Linked DNA regions of Homo sapiens: region 1 is linked to region 2. Evidence: promoter capture Hi-C in 16 types of primary human blood cells and fetal thymus (Javierre and others, 2016). All regions are on one chromosome and are shown on one strand. The core of a region is centred on a gene start or on the middle of the fragment in contact, and the rest is flanking DNA. Distances in the headings are between cores, read along the strand shown.

Region 1 (7,588 bases), core at 458-2,957, 460 kb before region 2:
GACAACCAAGGGTCAGAATAAGGTCCATAGCAATACTGCAGGAAAAAATTGCAGGACATGAACAGAACTTTTGAGTCTATGGGAGTAGGGCATGTGAGGCCGCTGATAACCCCTAGAAAAGTAACAAGAAAGCAAGGCCGTGTGATAGGTGACATTGTGTCATCCAAGAGCCTGCAAGCACTCAGGAGGTTAAACACAGAAGCTCCGCGTTGGTTCTGCTGAGCTCAAGTGCTGGGTCAGGCTTGCAGGTGCGTGGGCTCAGAGCATTACACTGCCTGTTCATTGCTTCTCCCTCACCTAGTTCACACCCTTCTGGATCTCACAGTCCTGGCTGCCGATACTCCAGTATATCAGATTCCTGATCTTTTAAAAAGAGAAATGAGTTAAAAAAAAAAAAAATAGAGGAATACTGGATGCGGCCAGTTTGCTTATCCCCCTTCTCTTCACCTTAGCTCCAACCAGCCCTGGTGGACCTTTTGTCTCACTTTTACCTCCAGGCACAGGGAGGATTACAGGCCTGAGGTTCTAGCAGGCTCGCTGGTTCTCAACCCTTGGGTGCACATTAGAATCACCTGGGGAAGCTTTCAAACCAGCCCTGTGCACAGCCACAACCGTTCTAGGGACTCTGATTTATGTGGCCTTGGGGATGGGTATCCAGCATCCCTATTTTAGTACTGAAAGTCCCACATTCCGGGAAACCCTTTAGCCCAGGGCAAACTGGGACAGTCCATCACCCCAGGCCTGGTCTTCAGGTTTTTTTTTTTTTTAAGTTTTGTTTTTTTTCCTTTTTCGTTTGTTTATAGTTCCCCAGGAGGGTCTAATGTGCAGCCAGGTGGAGAACCACTGCTAGTTTAGTTCTCAGCAACAAGGGGTCTGCCCAGGTTTTAAAAACACTACTCTCAAGTTGTCTGCAAGTTATGGGCTTCATGGCAACCACTAAATACGTGTTGAATACATGAGTGAAATGAAAGAAATCTGATGCCTCTAGAAATAGATCATACCAAAGCTTATATTGCCAATAAGGAAATATCGATGATGTGGAAAAGCATTTGCACCAAGAAAATTAAAAACCATAGGTTTGGATAAACAAATTGTGGTAGATCCACACAATGGAATACTCCTCAGCAATAAAGAGGCGTGAACCATTCCTCCATGTAACGACACGGAGGAATCTCAAAAACATTATGCTAAGTTTAAGAAGCCACACACAGAAGGCCGCATACTGTATGATTCCATTTACATGACCTTTATGAACAAGCAAAACAGATCCGTGGTTGCCCGGGGCTGGGAGAGGGTGACTGGGGGCCTGCCACCAGAGGGCGCAAAGGAACATTAAGGGGCAATGGAAACATTCTATATCTTATGGTGGGGGTTACACAACCGTATACATTTGTCAAAACTCACAGAACAGCGTGACTTCATACCTATATCTCAAAACCTGACATTAGAAAATGTGACCTAGGGTAGATATATATGTAGCAGGCGTTTTTCCCCACCCTGAGTAGTGGGTACTGATTTCCCAGACAGGAGCTGCTACATCTGCTGAATAAGAAGGATCTTTCTACGGGCTATGGCTGGTACAAAATGTCCCTCCCTTTGAGACGCATGAGTTTCCTGACCTGTCCTTCTGAAGCCATTTTATTTACACAGAAACAATTTCTGGGCTGGGTGCAGTGGTTCACGCCTGTAATCCATCACCTTGGGAGGCCGAGGTGGGTGGATCACAAGATCAAGAGATCAAGACCATCCCAGCCAACATGGTGAAACCTCGTCTCTACTAAAAATACAAAAATTAGCTGGGCATGGTGGTGTGTGCCTGTAGTCTCAGCTACTCAGGAGGCTGAGGCAGCGTAATAGCTTGAACCCGGGAGGCAGAGGTTTCAGCAAGCCGAGATCGCGCTCCAGCCTGGCAACAGAGTGAGACTCTGTCTCAAAACAAACAAACAAACAAAAAAACGTGGTGATTACAGGCCGGGTTCGGTGGCTCACTCCTGTAATCCCAGCACTTTGGGAGGCCAAGGTGAGTGGATCACCTGAGGTCAGGATTTCAAAACCAGTCTGGCCAACATGGTGAAACGCTGTCTCTACTAAAAATACAAAAATTAGCTGAGCGTGATGGCAGGTGCCTGTAATCCCAGCTACTCGGGAGGGTGAGGCAGGAGAATCGCTTGAACCCGGGAGGCGGAGGTTGCAGTGAGCCGAGATTGAGCCATTGCACTCCAGCCTGGGCAACAAGAGTGAAACTCTGTCTCAAAAAGAAAAAAAAAAGTGATTACACACCATCAACTCCTGTTCCAGACCATATGCATTTTGAAGAAATGGGCAGCCACCCACCTCCTGAGCTGTGAGCCAGGCACTACCGGCGATATTACCATACGTAGCTTGCTGCTCTCAGACCTCAAGCTTTTGATCCATGAGGGAACCATGAAAAATATGAACTAGGAAACGACAGCACAAAGCTGCATGCGGTGCCAAGGGAGAGTTGCAGAAGCAGCCCAGTGGGTCTTCGGGGAGGGAGAGGGCCTGGGGCCAGGTTGGAGGTCTATAGGCAGGAATGAGAAGCAGGCCAGTGAGCCCCACTCTGAGGGCACAGGAGGTGCTCTAGGGGAAAGGAGCCAGGAGGAACTCCAGAGGTGGGCCAGCAGAGGCTTATAGACAGTGTCAGACAGGAGCTTTATGAGAAGGTCGCTGAGCAGAGGAAGAGCAGGATGAAAGGAGGGACTAGATTTGAGCCTGCCAATCTGCTTGAGGCATCTGAAATAATCCAGGGCATGCTTAAGAATGAGCATGGAAAGAGGAACAGGTGTGAGACTTGAAGATGTCCTAAGATGTAATGAGGGACTGGAGAGGGGAGACGGATGAAAATGACGAAGGCATGGCTTGCTTAACTATGCTCTCTAATGAACCAATGGAAAAGTAGTGAGAGCCAGGAGATTTCACCGGAGGGCAAAGCCACTGAGGTGGGTTCTCTTGCTCCCACAGAGATTACGTTCACAAAGGAGTTTCAGGCTGTCATTTCTATTTCCTGCAGCATGCAAGGTCTGGAGAAGTCACTTCATTGATGGGGTATATTTCTATAGCTTGATTTGCCTGGCATTGCTGTTGAAGATCTTGTATGCAGATGTCTGTGTGTCATAAGCTAGAGATACTATGGTTTCAGATTTGACTTGGCCATGAAATTGTACATATATATATATATATAGTGTGTGTGTGTGTATTAGGGAGGGTACTTACTGCTGCCCATTGTCCCCAGGCTACTGCCACCTAGAACCCCATTCTAGCCCACCTGATTCATTATCCTACCACTATTAGCTGAAGCTACCACTCTGTGATGTGGCAGTGCACTGTGGGAAATTCTCAGGCCCCTGCTACAGACCCAATCTGGCCATCCAGGGAAAGAAAAGAGGGTAAGCCCTTTTATGACCCTTCTTACCTCAACTGCAAATATCTCCAGAGTACTGATAACGCTTTTTTATTTTTGAGATAAAGTATATCTCTTGGCATGGGCACAGTGGCTCACGCCTGTAATCCCAACACTTTGGGAGGCCGAGGTGGGCAGATCACGGGGTCAGGAGTTCAAGACCAGCCTGGCCAACATGGTGAAACCCCATCTCTACTAAAAATAGAAAAATTAGCCAGGCGTGGGGGCACATGCCCAGATACTTAGGAGGCTGAGGCGGGCAGATCACGGGGTCAGGAGTTCAAGACCAGCCTGGCCAACATGGTGAAACCCCATCTCTACTAAAAATGGAAAAATTAGCCGGGCGTGGGGGCACATGCCCAGCTACTTAGGAGGCTGAGGCAGGAGAATCGCTTGAACTCAGGAGGCAGAGGTTGCAATAAGCCGACAGTGTGCCATTGCACTCCAGCCTGGGTGACAGAACGAGATTCTGTATCCAAAAAAAAAAAAAAAAAGTCTCTTCTCCCAATTGTAAAAGAAATAATGGGTTCATTCTGGAAAATTTGGGAAAGGTACAAAAATAAAAATCAATCTTAGCCTCAATTCCCAGAGATAACCACTGTTAATATTCTGATGATATTCTTCTGTGCTTAAATTTTTAAATACACAAATTTATATTAAGCACTGGGACATGTACTATATATGATCTTATATCTCTTTGTGATGTTCTTTAACAGTGGAAAGCATTATTTTCAAAACTACGATTTTAATATTAATTATATTCCACTGTATGAATGAACCATAATTCTAAGTCTCCCTCCCCACAGTTAAAAAAATATAACTACTGCTGTCATGAACATCTTTGTCGGTAAAATTTTACTGGTTTTATTGCTTATTTTTTTCTTTTCCATATTTCATTTCAATAGCAGGTTTTATTACCTTTTTAGGATAGAGTCCAAGAAAGGTAGGTACCAAGTAAAAAGGACCTTTTTTTTTTTTTTGAGACCGGGTCTCACTCTGTCACCCAAGCTGGAGTACAGTGGCACGAACTAAGCTCACTGCAACTTCCGCCTACCAGGTTCAAGCGATTCTTGTGTCTCAGCCTTCCGAGTAGCTGGGATGACGGCATGCACCACCACATCCAGCTAATTTTTTGTATTTTTAGTAGAAACAGGGTTTCACCATGTTGGCCAGGCTGGTCTTGAATGCCTGGTCTCAAGTGATCCGCCTGCCTCAGCCTCCTAAAAGTTTGGGATTACAGGCATAAGCCACTGCACCTGGCCAAAAAAGGCCCACCCCCGCCCCCACCTGCCCCCACGACAGTCTCTCACTCTGTGCCCAGGCTGGAGTGCAGTGGTGCAATCTTGGCTCACTGTAACCTCTGCTTCCTAGGTTCAAGCGATTCTCCTGCCTCAGCCTCCCAAGTAGCTGGGACTACAGGCATGAGCCACCATTCCCGGATAATTTTTGTATTTTTATTAGAGATGGGGTTTCACCATGTTGGCCAGGCTGGTCTCAAACCCTTGACCTCAGGTGATCCACCCACCTCAGCCACCCAAAGTGCTGTGATTACAGGTGTGAGCCACCATGCCAGGCCAAAAAAGGACCATTTTAAGGCTCCTGATTTGTTTTGCCAAATTGTCTCCCAAAGGTGGCTATTCGTATCACACTTTCCCAGCAGCATCTAGGGGAGCCCACTTTACTAATTTTCGGTATTAGCATTTTAAAGTTCTTTTGCTGATTTTTTTAATGCCAACTCCATTGCCATATTTTTTGAATACAAAAAAACTATGGGACAGTAATCGCATGTAGATTCCCAGCAGCAGTCAGGGGCCTCTCACATAAGCAGGGTTTTGGCGCTGTTGGTGCACTTGCTCCTGACCTGGAATATCAATCAGCTTCTAGCCTTTTCTGCAAATGAAACTTCTGGGCCGAATGGACCTTCAGGTTCCTCGTGCCACTCTGGGCTCTCACTCTTCTCACTGGAAGAAGGCTCCCACAGGGGGAGAAACCCACAGCCATCCTCACCTGTGAATGAGGCATTCTAGCATCTGCCAGGCCTCACCTTGTTCTTGGCAAGCACGTTGGCTCCTGCTTTAATGAGCAGCTTGGCTGACTGGCTGAAACCATGCCAGGATGCTTCATGCAAGGCTGTATTCCCATCCTAAGGAAGACACACAGGTGGGAAAGGCACATTACCCAAGACCTAATTCTTCTCATTATGATCAATACATCACAGTGGATTTTTACGGAACACCAGACGGCCTTTCTCAATTGGACTTTCTCATCTGAGCCACAGACTACAGAAGATGATTTGAGTGGTAAGTTTCTCCATTATCCCAGAAATGATACATCATAAGAACCATTCTAGATGCACAGAAGAGAAATGAATCCATGACGAACCATGGATGATTGTTCATAAGGCATTAGAGGTTAAGTCTCTCTAGGAACCCCAGTTGAGAGAGGCTCTAGGCCCCATCCACAGCTCTCGTTTAACAGAAAGCATCATCAGGATAGCATGCCATCTATTTCTTCCCACCTCCACCACCCTTAGAGTCTGCTCTGCTCCTGGCATCAGAGAGAACCCTGCAAAGATCAGGCAAAGGAAGAGGCCATCTTCATAAGATTCAGGGGCCTGATCGATTCCCCAACTTTTTTTCACTGAAACTTAATCTCACCCACCTTAATTCAAAAGCCTCAGGGCCCCAAACAAATAATGAACAGGGACTGAGGAAACAGTGATTTGGAAATAAAACAAACAAGTATCCTCAATGTGTGGCCTTTATTTTTTGAGACAGTCTTGTTCTGTCACCTAGAGTGGAGTGCAGTGGTGTGATCTCAGCTCACTGCCACCTCTGCCTCCAGAGTTCAAGCGATTCTCCTGCCTTAGCCTCCCAAGTAGCTGGAATTACAGACATGCACCACTATGCCTTGCTAATTTTTGTATTTTTAGTAGAGACAGGGTTTCACTATGTTGGCTAGGCTGGTCTTGAACTCCTGACCTCAAGTGATCCACTTGGCTTCCCACAGTGCTGGGATTACAGGCGTGAGCCACCGTGCCCGGCCTAATGTGTTGCTTTTAAATAGAAGTCATTTAATGAACATAGCTCGTATTTGCTTAGCTTACTATTTTAAACAAATAAATATCATTAAGTGCAATGAATTGAGTGGGGTGGGGGCGGGAAGGCAGGAGTTCCAGGGAGGGAAGAGCCCGGAGAAGGAAGGGTGCAGGGCAATCAGCAGAGGTCAGTGCAGGTGCATTCTCCAATTACATCCAGGCTCTGGCTTCAGCTTTAACTCAACCACATCCATGCCCCTAGAAACAGCTAAAAATAAAGGCCTAACACAGCTGACCTCCACAAGGGGAAGTCTAGGGTCTCAAAGGCCAGGGGATGGGGTGGTTGCTGGGAACTGTATTGGCGGTGTGTGGCCCGGGCAGTGGGACTGACTGCAGAAGGAGGAAGCCAAAGGAAAGCGGGGATGCAAGGGGCAGGGGGCACAGGGTATGGGGCTTCTGGGTGCTGGCAATGAGCTGCTTCTTGAGCTGGGTGCTCACACAGGTGTGTTCTGCTAGTGAAATTCAACAAGCTGCACACTTATTTGTCCACTTTTCTGTATGTATATTATACTTTAATGAAAAGTTATTTTTAAAAAGTAAAGCAGAGTTCTTCCCAGCATAGCCTCTTTAAAGAAAAAAAAAAAAAGTAAGCAGAGGCTGAATTGCACTTAATTGTGAAGTTTTGTGTTTTAAGATTGTTTGAAAATTTAAAAACATTAGGTTAATATGTAAGAAGTCATTAGGATTCCTTAAATAATCAATTTTTCTTTTTCTTTTTTTTTTGAGACAAGAGTTTCGCTCTTGTTGCCCAAGCTGGAATGCAATGGCACGATCTCAGCTCACTGCAACCTCCACCTCCCGGGTTCAAGCGATTCTCCTGCCTCAGCCTCCCAAGTAGCTGAGTTTACAGGCATGCGCCACCATGCCCTGCTAATTTTTTGTATTTTTAGTAGAAACGGGGTTTCACCATGTTAGCCAGGCTGGTCTCGAACTCCTGACCTCAGGTGATCTGCCCGCCTTGGCCTCCCAAAGTGTTGGGATTATAGGCATGAACCACTGCGCCTGGCCAATTTTGCTATCTATCTATCAATCTTATTTATTTATTTGTTAAGAGACAAGGTCTCACTCTG
Region 2 (7,641 bases), core at 3,612-6,111:
TCCCAAAGTGCTGGGATTACAGGTGTGAGCCACTGCACCTGACCTCTCTTTTCTATCTTAAAAGATGACCAATGAAGGCCAGGTGTGATGGCTCATGCCTGTAACCCCAGCACTTTGGGAGGCCGAGGTGGGTGAATCACTTGAGGTTAGGAGTTCAAGACCAGCCTGACCAATACGGTGAAACCCTGTCTCTACTAAAAATATGAAAATTAGCTGGGCGTGGTGGCGCACGCCTGTAATCCCAGCTACTCAGGAGGCTGAGGAAGGAGAATCACTTGAACCTGGGATGCGGAGGTTGCAGTGAGCCAAGATCGTGCCACTGCACTCCAGTCTGAGCAATTGAGTGAGACTCAGCCTCAAAAAAAAAAAAAAAAAAAAAAAAAAGAGATGATCAGTGAGAAAGCTAAGAAGGCAGATACTAGGAGAAGGTCTGGGGTCAAGTGCGCTGACTTCAGAACCAAGACCACGAAGCCTAACCTTAAGTCCCAGAAGGGTAATGAGCTGCAGAGCCTGCCTGCATATGCAGGCCCCTTCTAGTCAAAGGCAAGGGCAGAGATTTCTAATCCCCAGTGTTTTCTAGAGATGGACTAGTTTACCACCACCCTTGAAACCAAAGTTCAAAGATTCCTCCTACTGCCACAGTACCAATTTCCAGTGATAAGAAGGAAGATACCCTAATAGTTAAAATGATCACCCTTTGAAAACAGGGCCTGGTAAGGTGCTAAGAGGTGGGATACCCGGGTACAATCTAGAAGCACTGCTGTGATGGTTCTGCTATCATTCCCTCAGTACCGAGCTACTTCTGAGGAAAACACATGGTTTTGCTGAAGCAGCTGAGCACTGGCTCCTTGTGCCTGGACCATTAACTACTATAGTTACTACTATGGTTGAAATTTCTGGTATAAAAAATCCAAACCACTTCAATGATGTGTGCTCCTAGGTACTAAAAAGTGAGTTCTTCAACATAAAGAAAGACAAATAAAAGGTTTCAGCACCAGACAAATCGGAAAAGCACAGAATGAGAAGTTCCACAAAAACCATAGCTACTCATGTTCCATATTCTCTCTCAGGACATAATTTATCCTCTTTGCAAAGAACTCAAATTAAAGTAAATAAAATGGATAAGTGTGGTTTCTTCCCATAGCTAATAGAACGATCTCTCGCAAATCTATTCAGTTGCAAAGACAATTTCATATGAAAGGACAGATGTTTTCCAGACACCAGATTATTGACAGTTCAAAAGAGAACTTAATTGTCAACATGTTTGTTATTCCTATGGTTTCTAAGTGCTACTATTTTAATACTCCAATTATGAACACCATAATGAATCTCAATTAGAAGAGGCTTGCCAAATGTCACTCCATAGATCAAGACATCTTGTTATTGTCTTTCAATTTACTTCTTAAATATACAAATGTGGAGTTTTCGTCTCTGGTTTAGACATAAAAGTATTCTATAGCCTGTGTTCCCCTAAGAAGTTTATCTTCAACTTGATTACTCACTCATGTTCAGCCATATCTGGTAGATAAGCAGCATTCTCTTGTGATGGGTGGGCCATAAAAACAACATCAAGATTTGTAAAAGCCCCTGCTTCAATTAAATCAATTTTGCCACCACCATCTTCTTCTGCAGGGGTTCCCAGGACAACTACCTAGAAGGAAATACTCATGTCAGGGAAAAACAACAAAATCCTCATAGGAATATATCAAACAGGTTCACCTGCATATGTATTCACAATCTACATTAAAGTCCTTAACCTATTAAGACAGGTTTTGTTCTATGACGCTTACGCAATGGGCATCAACAAATGGTGCTAAATTAATCACAAAATGTACATTGTTATACCAACTTGGTGCAAAGTATGTACTAAAGACACTATAAAAAGCTTTTCCCAATTTTACAAGTCAACTAATGGCAAAGATAAAAAAAAATACTACAAGTTTAGTCCCTCAAAATTTGTTAGGATTTGTTTCAAAAAGGTTCCTCTCGACTAAGCCTTTCAGTGTATGTATGTATATAATTATTCTTAAGTACTTTACGAGTCAGAAACTTTCTGTTAACTTACTACTTATCCTCACAACAACCCTGTGAGGTAGGTGGGTGATCTCTATCATCATTTTACAGGGGGTGTTTTTGAGGAATTGAGTGAAGTGTCTTGCCCCAGGTCACAGAGCAAGTCTTCAGGCAGAATTAGGATTAGATGTCCTGATCTTCTGGCCTAAACTCTGATTCCTTACTGGGCTACCTATTTTAAAAGTCTGAACTCATTAATCCTTTATGAAGAACATTAAACAAGTCTTAATGCCACAGTTAGAAACAGCCAACTATTACACAAACTTACTAATTCGATTCCACCAGTTCAACCAGGCAGATTTATTGGTCACCAAACACCTAATTAAACAAAAGAGAACTTTACAGAATAAACATTTTACTTTGATATTTAAGCTTAACTGCTTCAAACAATTTTAAAAATCAAAATAAACAACTAATATATTTTCAAGATCATGTATAAGAACACAATGAAACAAGCTGGAAAAGTCTTGGCTTGCAAAGGAAATCAACTTAAATTCCATTTTCAGATAATTAATAACTTAACCTTGCTAAAATTGAGAACAACCATTTGAAGTTAGAAGAGTGGGCCGGGAGCGGTGACTCATGCCTGTAATCCTAGCACTGTGGGAGGCCGAGGTGGGCGAATCACCCGAGATCCGGAGTTCGATACCAGCCAGGCCAACATGGCGAAATCCTGTCTCTACTAAAAAATGCAAAAATTAGCTGGGCGTGGTGGCACACACCTGTAATCCCAGCTCAGGAGGCTGAAGCACGAGGATCGCCTGAACCCGGGAGGCGGAGGTTGTAGTGAGCCGAGATAGGACCACTGCACTCGGCCTGGGCGACAGAATGAGACTGTCTCAAAAAAAAAAAAAAAAAAAAAAGAGTGTACATTTCTCAAAGTTTAGCTTTTTTTTGGCGGTTCTACAGTGCTCAAACTCTGACATGAAGCCGCCGCTCTTTTTTTTTTTAAGAGGAGGCCTCGCTCTGTTGCCCAGGATGGAGTGCAGTGGCGCGATGTCGGCTCACTGCAACCTCTGCCTCCTGGGTTCAAGCGATTCTCCTGCCTCAGCCTCCCGAGTAGCTGGGATTACAGGCGTGAGCCACCACGCCCAGCTAATTTTTTTTTTTTTAATATATTTTAGTAGAGACAGAGGTTTCACCATGTTGGCCAGGCGGGTCTCGAACTCCAGACCTCAACTGATCTGCCCACCGCTCTTCATTCTTGACCCTTAACTCATTAAATACGATATGTCTCTCGCTGACTACTCAGAACCTTTAAAAACGTGGTTGAAGCGAAATCTCTCCAGTGTTTGTGACATGGCAAAGCATGCTTCCCCCAACCCAAACAAAAACCTAACAAATGCAAAAACGAGCCTCCAGAGACAGAAAAAAGAAGGCAGCTAAAGTGAAAAAGCCACAAAAGATGTAGTGTTAGGATAAAAGAGGAAGGTTACTGACACTGGGGGAAATGAACTAAAGAGTATGAAAATAAAACATTTGTTTTCCCCTTAACTGAATGACGATTGAATCTTAGCTCATAGTGTAGAATATACCATCTGGAAAAGCAGAGTAAAACAGGATTAAACTTGCCCTACGACAAACATAAACGACATTTCCCTGTTTAAAGAGTCGAGGTATTTCTTAAAATCATAAAACAAAAAAATTAAGACTTAAGGATGAACTCATCTATGTATAATGCTCATTCACTTCCCCTTTATTTGTATACTTCTAGGGGTCTGGTGGTTCTAGCGACTGAAAATTCCTATCCAAATACCAATGACTTGAATCACATTTTCTAGGACTGCCACAAACAAAAGATTTATTTGGAGACGAATAAAAAGGGGCCGTAGGATTACCTACAAGAAGTTATTTCCTCCTGAGATTGATGGCACAACCTTGTCAGCAAATTGCTGTTGCCTCTCTCAGTTACCAAAAATAACCCGTAACAAACACCAGGCTTGGGTGTAAGTTCTTTCCTAAGGGAACAACTCAGCAGAGCTGTTTATAACTAGAGAGGAGGAAACAATAATCTGCAAGATGTCGCCAGGTCGGCAACGCGAACTGACTTTGACTGGGGGTTCAGCTCTGCTCCTGCGCCGAGGCGAGGACCGCAGGTTTAGCGCGGTCCCACACACACCTGCCCCGGGCGGGAGGGCACCGAGGCGCGCGGGACGCACGAGAGTCCCGCCCTTCCCGGGTCGCCCCCGACCCGGGCAGTCGGATAGGGTCCCGCACCCGGGCCCCACCTCACCTTCACGGGCGGAGGCGGCCTGGGGAGGCCCTCTAAGGCCCCCCTCACGCCCAGCGCGGCCGCCGCCCCGACCTCAGCGATGAGGTTGTGGCCGCAGGCGTGGCCGATGCCGGGCAGCGCGTCGTACTCGCAGAGGAAGCCCAGGTGCAGCGGGCGTGGCGTGGCGCTCGGTGCCCGGGCCTCCGGCGGCTCCCACTCGGCGCGGAAGGCCGTGGGCAGCTGGTAGTGCGGCTGCACTGCCCAGGAGGCCGCGGGCGGCTCCCGCTCGAAGAAGTGCGTCAGCACGCGGTGGGCATGGTGCTCCTCGTAGGCCAGCTCGGGCTGGCTCCAGATCGCGCGGCTCAGGGCCCCCAGCCGCTCGGCCGCCTCGTCGATGCACTCCGCCGAGCGCAGCTTCAGTAGCTCCAGCTCGGAGCGGCCATTGCACGCGCCCCCTTCCACGGGCCGCTCCCCTCCGGGCCTCATGCTGCCCAAGCCCGCTGCCCTCTGCGCCCTCTCGCTCCCTGGCTCGGCCGCAGGTAGCGACCGCCCGCGCACGCGCCCAGAGGCCTCCAGGACCCCGGCGGAGCGCGCACGCGGCCACACAGCTCCCAGGGCACCACCCCCAGTCCCGGGGCCGCCCCCGGCGCCGCGCGGGAAACGCTGGCGGCCGCTCGTACCCTACCAGGCGCTCTGCCCCGCCGTGGGGTTTTGGGGGTGCTGTGGAGAAGGCAGGGCTCGGGACTCTTCCACCTCCTTGGCTGCTCTGGCCTTTGAGTTATGCTCTAAGATTATCGATTACTTTTCCGTTGTTGCTTATTTCCCACAGCAGCAGAATGAGAACGGTTATTAGTTAATAGCCATCAGAGACAGACCAAGTGGAACACAGTCCTCGGAAAAACGCCACTCTGTAGCATTAGTAATTAAAACCTCACAAGGTTTGTATTTCCTGAAGGAGGCCGTCAGTGTCAATGCTGTACTAACGACGGTACTGTACGTAAGTTTCGGTACTGCCCCCACTTTCTTCTCCTTGACATTGTATTACTAAAAGCTGCAGCTACTCTCTACAGTTTTCTCATTGGTTACTAATGTCTGGAACAGCAGCTAGATTATGCAGTAAGCTCTTGGTATGTATTAGCTATTATATAATAATTTATTTGAATAGAGTAGAACTAAAAATTTGAAATGAGTTAAAACCAAAGAGTTAAAAGATTTATGGTAGTAAATATTCATACTGTTTTGTTGATTTGGACAGTTGTCTTGAACAGCTTTGAAAGGGAACATATGACAGGTTTCGTTTATAATTTTAATTGATGCTGAACTCCACTAACATGATATGTGCAGCTGGTGTTACATTATAACTGAGTTTTTTAATTACCCAGTGAAGAAATTCAAGATGTCATGCTCTTGTTTTTCTCCAGAGTGAACCACAAAGTCTGAAAAACTGTTGTTGACGGTATGCCTATTAATAACACTGTAGATGTTTATATTCTGAGGTTTTCCACATATTAAAAGCTTCTATCAGCTCTTCATACCCTATCATCTTTCCTTAATTTGTCTCAACTATGTTAAATGGGACACAATATATTAATGTGATAAACCAAATGAATATTTTGAAAATAAGTCTAAGGGAAGCTAACATGCACGAAGACTATCAACTACTGTTTTTACTACTCTATATGCTAATAATACCAGAGTAAATGTCACATTCCATTCACGTCTGAAAACTTTCTTTCTCAGTTAACACTCCAACAAAAACTCAGCTCTAAAAACAACAAATGTGTTATTAAATTCCTGGGCCCCCTTGGCGATAATAAATCTTTCTCTGGTATTCTGCTGAAGAAAATTACCCTGTATCCACGAGATCCAATATTATCCTGCTCAGTTAGTTGGCTAAAAAAAGGGGAGAAGGGGGGATTGGAGAGCAAAAGCAATAGGTGACATTTGTAGAGCAATTACTCTGTGCTAGGCACTGTTCCAAGGGCTTAGCATTTGTTAACTCATTTAATCCTCACAGCAAACTATGAGGTGGTTAATGTGGTTATTTATCTTCATTTTACAGATGTATGTCCAAGATTATAGAGCTAGTAAGTAGTGGACCCACTGTAGAACAGAAGCCAGAGTCAGCCTCCAGTGGCTGACTTTCAGCCACCATGGTCTATTGCTTGTGTAAACAGACATGCAAATTCATAAATGCATCTCCAGTTTATCTATTCAAATCAGAACCCACAACACTCATTTTGAATAAATTTTACTGCAGCAACTCTGCCTGCTGACATCAGTAGAACCCATGTTTGCCCTCCTCAGGCATCAATAAACAGCAACAGAAAAGGGATGCATATAATTTCATATAGAAGCTGCTATTTATATTGCTTTGCAGGAATTAACAAAGCTGCCACTTGAGGTAGAGGAAAGACAGATTCATTTCAAGCTCTGTTCCTTGTGTATATATGTGGGTGGGTGGGTGGGTATACATGCCCACAGGCACGTATGTATTCAGTTTCTACTGTTGACACCTTGTATTTCTTGCTCATGGTATTTTGCACCCTTGAATTCATTTATTTGATAAACTGTGATAACTTGCTGACCGTTTATCTTCCCCTCCAGGCTTTAAACTCTTTTGTTTTCCCACTGCATTCCCCAGCACCTAACATCTTATGGTCAGCATTTCCTCTGTGTTAATAAATATTTGTTGGCTGATTATTCTTCTTGAATCTAATAAACTAACTGAATAATGGCAGCAATTAACCATTAAACGACACTGACTACCAATAGACATTGTTATGCTTCTTCCTAGACTTCTCAGTCCTTTATGTGGAGCTGGGGGCAGGAAGAATTGCTTCTGGAAGCTGATGGAGTTGGACATGTGGCTTTCTAGAATCTGGTCAGCTCATAAATTCTTACTATTACTTTCATTTGTACCCATAATATTCATACAACTGTCTACCCTATCTATGTGCTACTGGTAAGGAACCTGTATGTTTTTATTAGAAACAAAAAAAAATGTATACAAGCTCCCTTCCTTTAGCTGGTGCTGGATCTGAGGAAACAATACAATATCCAGAATTTAGTATTAAGATGTATAACCTTTTTGGGGGGGTGAGAGGAGTGCAGATAGTTCTCTCTTGAGGACTGGTTTTAAAGTATATAAATGTTCTTTCTTGGCTCCTGATGAGAAAAAAGGGGAAAAAATATATAAAGATTCCTCTTCTTTCCTGGCTGCTTAGAAAACCAGCTGTCATCACAACTGACTCAATAACTTTGAGAACAGGACATTCATGACAAATGAGTGCTGTGGTGGAAAGAGTAGATCAAAAATTTCCTTTACCCTGGAAAAGCAACTAAAATACAGCCAA

What was found. Contacts are between HindIII fragments. The CHiCAGO score rates a contact against its expected background, and 5 or more counts as called.
Region 1: a fragment that was not itself captured here is called in contact with the fragment with the promoter of PM20D2 in region 2 in 2 of 17 cell types (fetal thymus and naive B cells); the score reaches 8.5 in fetal thymus.

The regions. Positions count from the first base shown.
Region 1 is chr6:89,603,983-89,611,570 of GRCh38, reverse strand. It overlaps ANKRD6 (ankyrin repeat domain 6), which reads right to left. Exons shown (of 16, transcript NM_001242809.2): 5 at 5,466-5,564. It overlaps LOC124901359 (a long non-coding RNA gene), which reads left to right. Exons shown (of 2, transcript XR_007059673.1): 2 at 5,640-6,167. Among named protein-coding and RNA genes, the nearest start is that of MDN1-AS1, 31 kb to the left of the region's middle. RefSeq lists a silencer at 1,990-2,189. The HindIII fragment of the contact is 1,397 bases long and covers 1,009-2,405 here.
Region 2 is chr6:89,143,275-89,150,915 of GRCh38, reverse strand. PM20D2 (peptidase M20 domain containing 2) reads right to left here and starts at 4,861. Exons shown (of 7, transcript NM_001010853.3): 1 at 4,307-4,861; 2 at 1,503-1,651. The coding sequence starts at 4,771. It overlaps LOC101929004 (a long non-coding RNA gene), which reads left to right and starts at 4,050. Exons shown (of 4, transcript XR_942766.4): 1 at 4,050-5,223; 2 at 7,083-7,169. RefSeq lists a silencer at 4,115-5,044. The HindIII fragment of the contact is 3,355 bases long and covers 2,448-5,802 here.